Linked DNA regions of Homo sapiens: region 2 is linked to region 1. Evidence: promoter capture Hi-C in 16 types of primary human blood cells and fetal thymus (Javierre and others, 2016). All regions are on one chromosome and are shown on one strand. Each heading gives the region's core, a stretch centred on a gene start or on the middle of the fragment in contact. The rest is flanking DNA. Distances are from core to core; before and after follow the strand shown.

Region 1 (2,840 bases), core at 300-2,799:
ACTACTCAAGAAAGTCCAATGGGCCAGTGAGGACACTGCAGGTGACAGAAATTTCTATGAGTGTAACACCTACAAGCACTGTGCTCACAGGACTGACTGTTACACCAAAAAGGTCTCTTGGAGGAGAAGAAATGCAATATGCAAAGAAGCTGTTGTCTCCAATTATTCAAGCCAAGGCTACAACAGTAGCCACAAATCTGCCAGTTATTTCCAATTAAGGCAGAACGATTGACTTAAAAAGCAATAGTTGTTTTTTTTCTCCACTGAGCTTTCAATTAGATAATGTCTATAACCTTTATAAAGCTGCAATTATACAGCCAAAAGAAAAAAAATTAATTGTGGTAAAACATACATAAAACTTACCACTTAAACCACTTTTAGGTGTGTAGTTCAGTGGCAGTAAGTACACTCACAATGTAATGCAGGCATCACCAAAATCCATCCCCAGGACTTTTTCATCTCTCCAAACTGAAACTCTGTCCCCATGAAACACCAACTTTCCATTCCCCCTTCCACCAGCCCTCAACAACCCCCATTCTATTTTCTGTCCCTATAAGTTTGACTCCTCTAGGTACCTTATTATATAAGTGGAATCACACAGTATTTGTCTTTTTTTGACTGGCTTACCTCCCTCAGCATAGTGTCCTCCAGGTTCATCCATGTAGTAGCAAGTGTCAGAATTTCGTTCTTTGTTCAGGCTAAAAAATGTTCCCTTGCATGCACAGACAACATTTTGCTTATCCATGTATCTGTTTTTGGACACTTAAATTGCCTCCACCCTTTTGGCTATTGTGAATAGTGCCGCTGTCAACGTGAGTGTAAAAACATTTCTTCTTGTACACCCTGTTTTAAATTCTTTTGGGTTATATACCCAGAAAAGAAAATGCTGGATCATATAACTGATTTGTTGAGGAACCGCAGTATTGTTCATCACATGGCTGCACCATTTTACATTCCCAACAGCAATATACAAGGGCTTCAATTTCTCTACATCTTCACCAACACTAATTTCTGGGGGTTTTGCTAGTAGCCATCCTAATGGGCGTGAAGTGGTATAAACAAAATTTAGATCCCATCATCTCCGAAAAGCAAATACACTTCCTAGTACTAGTCAGTACTAAATAGGTGCACAGCGTTTAGAACTTTACTTGATCCAACATAGCAGCCTGCCTAGAGCCGGAGCCCCGCCCACTCCGGAGTCCCGCCTGGACGCCGACGCAGCGAGGGCGCTATGGCTGGCGGCCTCGCCTCCTGGAAAGGCCATGGTCGCTGAGGCGACGAGCGAGGGCGGGGCAGCGCCGACGGGGACACTCATCCCGGGAGCCAGAGCCAGCACCGAGAGGGGACGGTCTACGCGGGTGCCGGCGGTTCCAGGACTGCGAAACCACGAGCCGAGTTTCGGTCGCCCATGGGAAAGCACCCGGCAGGGCGTGGCTTCGGGGCGGGGCGGGCAGAGGGCGGAGCAGGATGGAGAGGCGAGGTGGGCGGAGCAGAGGGCGTGGCTTCGGGGCAGAGTGGGCCGGGTACCGCGCTTGGTCTTAGCGCATGCGCACTCCCGGCAGCTACGCGACCTGTGACCATGGTGGCTGTGCTGGGCGGCCGGGGCGTGTTGCGCCTGCGGCTGCTTCTCTCAGCGCTGAAGCCCGGGATCCACGTCCCACGGGCCGGACCCGCGGCCGCGTTCGGGTAATGGCGGCCACCTCGCCCCGGGGATCCCCAGCATCGGCGCGCTCGAGGGGCGGCGGGAGGGGCGCGTGCCGACAGCAGGAGTTCCCGGCGCGCGGGCACGGGGCGTGGGCGCGGCCTGGCTGCCCTGTCGCCCTTTGTGCCGCGAGACCCCGATCCTGGGGGCCAGCCGCGCTTGGTGCTCGAGCCCCTCGATCGTGCATGCGCCTCGGTCAGCCTCAGTTCAAGGAGTCTGGAGCCGTGGAGGCTTGGGCTATAGAGTGCAGCCCCTTCAGTGTGCAGACCAGAGAGACCCAGGGAGATACATTTGCCTGTAGTATGGACTCACCCGTGACGGAGCACGGACTAGAATCCCAACGCCCTCATTAGTCCATTGCTCTGTCCAGAGTCCACACTAAGGGCATAAGGACAATAATCTCTTCTTTCTCTTATGTCAGAAATCAGCCTGAGCCTGAGTACCGCTAAGGCTTTAATCACGGGTCCCGAGAGCCCTAAGTCTTCTCTTTGCTTGCTGATCTCGTACCTTAATGTGCAAAAGAATCACGTTGGGAACTGAAAATTCAGAATCCTGGGCCTCACTCCCAGAGGATCTGATCTACATGTGTGGAGATGCCCAGGAATCTGCTTTATTCTCTTTTGTCCTCCCACCTGTCCCCCCATTTCAGGTAAAACAATAACAAAAAAACTGGATTAATTTCTGACCTTCTGTCTTGAAAATGGATACTCTTGGTCCCAAGAGATACTGGGCAGAAATGTGGATAGAGCGGCATGAAGCTTGTTTTACTTTATTCTCTACATACATCCCTACACACATGCAAACACACGTATACAACGAACGTACACAGTGCATGTGCGCAGTTGACTGTTGATGGGCTACTTTCATAAAGTCAGTACTAGATAGGTACACAGCGTTTAGAACTGTACTTGATCCAACATAGAAACTTTTAGTTTGAAAACTTGATTTAGAAGGAGAAAAGAGGGCAAATCTGACCAGCTTTTAAAATTTCATATTGCAATTGACTAGCTCCTTTAATTTTAGAATTATTATAAGATGGTCAGGGCTATTTTGATAGATGGAAAAACATGTTAATGGCTACAGCTGTATAAATTAACAGTGAAAATGATTATTTTTTCCAGTTTCCTGTCTGCAGAAA
Region 2 (2,700 bases), core at 173-2,672, 880 kb after region 1:
AAAATTTGGATAAATTCATATAAAAACAACAGTCTCCTTTGCCAAAGAAGCTGGAATATGGACTGACAATATTGAAATAAATTAAACAAATGTTTATCATATACTATCATGTGCTAAGCACTTTCAACTGCTAGGCAAACAGCTGCCAACAAAAATAGATGAGAACTCTGTAATTTTATAGAACTTGTGAAAATAAGTAATTCAAAATCAAAGCTATTGGAACGTTATTTTGAGCCTTAAAGGAATGTGATTATACGACCTGAGTCACTAACAGGCAGCTGTAACCTTTATTTCCCTAATTACGGATTAGCCTTGAATAAACTCAGGTGAGCCACTGTACCTGGCTTTGAGAATTTCAATAAAAGAAAAGGAGGTGTGCCTGAAACTTCAAGACTAAAAGAGATAAATTAAGGAGGGCCAATCATGGAGAGGTTTATAGGCCACAGTAAGGAGCTGGATTTTTTTTTATGAGTAATGAGAAAACATTAATGGATTTTTGCTCTGACAAATTAAAGCTGGATATTCCTCATCTACTGGTTGAAATAGGGGTAATCCTGTAGGGACATGGATCCCTCTTGGTCTAAACTTAACCAGAAACAACTAAAATTTGGACAAATTCATAAAAAGACAACAATCTCTTTTTCCAAAGACTCCAGAGTATGAACTGACAACACTGAAATGTTTTGGGAGAAAAGGAATAGAAGCAGAGAGAATGGATTGGAAATGACAATAAGGAGGCTTTCAAACAGCCAAGCATTCACCTTCCTAACATCACTGAAGGATCAGGCATGGGCTGGCCTCAGTACTTAATCGTTATTTTGAACTGTGGTGGCAACAGATCTCACCAGCTGAGAATTAAAGAAAAATTCTACTCCTAGGGCCAAAAGGAGACAACTTGGAAAGTTAGAAGTTAGAAGAAGTTCACAGCCATTTCATAAATGCTCAAAAAAAAAAAAAAAAAAAAACCCAAAACCAAAAAAAAAAAAAAAAGAAAAAAAAAAGAACACATTCTAAAGGTTTGGGTAAAAAATTTGCAAGAATTACTTGCTCTTTTCGCTGGGTGTGGTGGCTCACGCCTGTGATCCCAGCAATTTGGGAGGCCAAGGCAGGTGAATCACTTGAGCTCAGGAGTTCAAGACTAGCCTGGCCAACATGGCGAAAACCCATCTCTACTAAAAATACAAAAATTAGCCAGGTGTGGTGTTGCGCGACTGTAATCCCAGCACTTTGGGGGACCCAAGTGGGTGGATCACTTGTGCTCAGGAGTTCAAGACCAGCCTGGCCAACATGGCGAAACCCCATCTCTACTAAAAATACAAAAATCAGCCAGGCTTGGTAGCGTGTGCCTGTAATTTCAGCTACCTGGGAGGCTGAGGCAAAGAACTGCTTGAACTCGTAAGGCGGAAGTTGCAGTTAGCCAAGATCGCACCACTGCACTCCAGCTTGGGGGACAGAGAGAGACCCTAACTCAATTAAAAAAAGAAATTTTGTTTTGTTTTAATGAACCTTACAACAAAGCTGTTTATTTAAAAAAAATAAAAGCTGGTAACTAGTATGAGGTCAAATGCAGAAAGCCAGATTATAAAAAATTACCCATATAATGTGGAATATTAAAAATGGAAATATGAAAAAAATCTGAAAAATTATATGGGTGTGTTAGAAATGGATTAGTGAAGAAAGAACATGAAGAAATATAAAAGAACAGTATGGGAGGATGGTGAAGTCTAAAATACTATTGTCTTAAAGGAAAAAGTTTTTCATATTCAAAAGAGGAATGGATTGAATGTCTCAATTTAAAGTGACATCAAGCAATTCCAAATAAATGCCATGGTTTCTGGTCTATAGAGAAGGAAAAGTCTACATTCAAGTATGCTTGGTGTATAAATTAAGATTTTCATATGTCAAACCACTGTTCTAGTAAATATATATTATTACATTAATGCAGTGATAATTCCAGACACCAATTTCCCATGAGAGCCTATGGCTTCCTGAAGACATAACATGTCAAAGAAGTCTGTCGGAAGACTTAAAAATATACACACATATATATATTTAACAGAAAAATACTTTCTAATAAGCACACGAAATATTACCAACAATGTGGTATGATACATTTAAGAATGATATCCAAAATTTTAACCATTGGTATGGGCACTGATCAATCAGAAAGCAGGCTGGCCACACTACTATAGCAGGATCCTAGAGGCCCCAGATGGGACAGGCGTTAACCCTTTAGTTGCTGGGGAGTGTGATGGGGGGGAGGTCCAGTGGGAAGGCATTCAGAGGGCTCAGGGCAGCACCATTTACTAACCAGTATGGAAGTCTTTCCATATTTTAGCAACCAGCATGGCTATTCCAGCAGCCTTGAAGATACTAGCAGAGCATCAGCCCTGAGTGTGTCCACATAATACTCTGCAGGCACTATGTCTATTAATATGTAATGGCATCGAGTCATCCATGATACATTATTACATGAATGAGGTAGATTACATAACAGTGTGCATATTCTGATCCTTTTTAGTTCGTTGGCATGTGTGCAGGAAAAGATGGGAGTGAGAAGATTCATAGCCTCCAGTAGGATTGTGGGAGATTTTTATTTTTTCTTATTATATTTTCTAAACTTCTCACATATAAACACAAGTTAAAATGTTATGCTTAGAATACAGTATTATACTATTTTTGAAATTATGATGACTGGTA

What was found. The method cuts DNA at HindIII sites, captures the fragments that hold promoters and counts their contacts. A CHiCAGO score of 5 or more calls a contact.
Region 2: a contact is called between a fragment that was not itself captured here and the fragment with the promoter of BPHL in region 1, in 2 of 17 cell types (naive CD4 T cells and M0 macrophages). The highest score is 6.0, in naive CD4 T cells.

The regions. Positions count from the first base shown.
Region 1 is chr6:3,117,162-3,120,001 of GRCh38, forward strand. BPHL (biphenyl hydrolase like) reads left to right here and starts at 1,550. Exons shown (of 7, transcript NM_004332.4): 1 at 1,550-1,686. The coding sequence starts at 1,580. It overlaps LOC107986556 (a long non-coding RNA gene), which reads right to left and starts at 1,486. Exons shown (of 4, transcript XR_001743928.3): 1 at 628-1,486. RefSeq lists an enhancer at 784-1,419 and a silencer at 1,458-1,847. The HindIII fragment of the contact is 8,418 bases long and covers 1-2,458 here.
Region 2 is chr6:3,997,761-4,000,460 of GRCh38, forward strand. No RefSeq gene overlaps it. Among named protein-coding and RNA genes, the nearest start is that of PRP4K, 22 kb to the right of the region's middle. The HindIII fragment of the contact is 4,300 bases long and covers 1-2,700 here.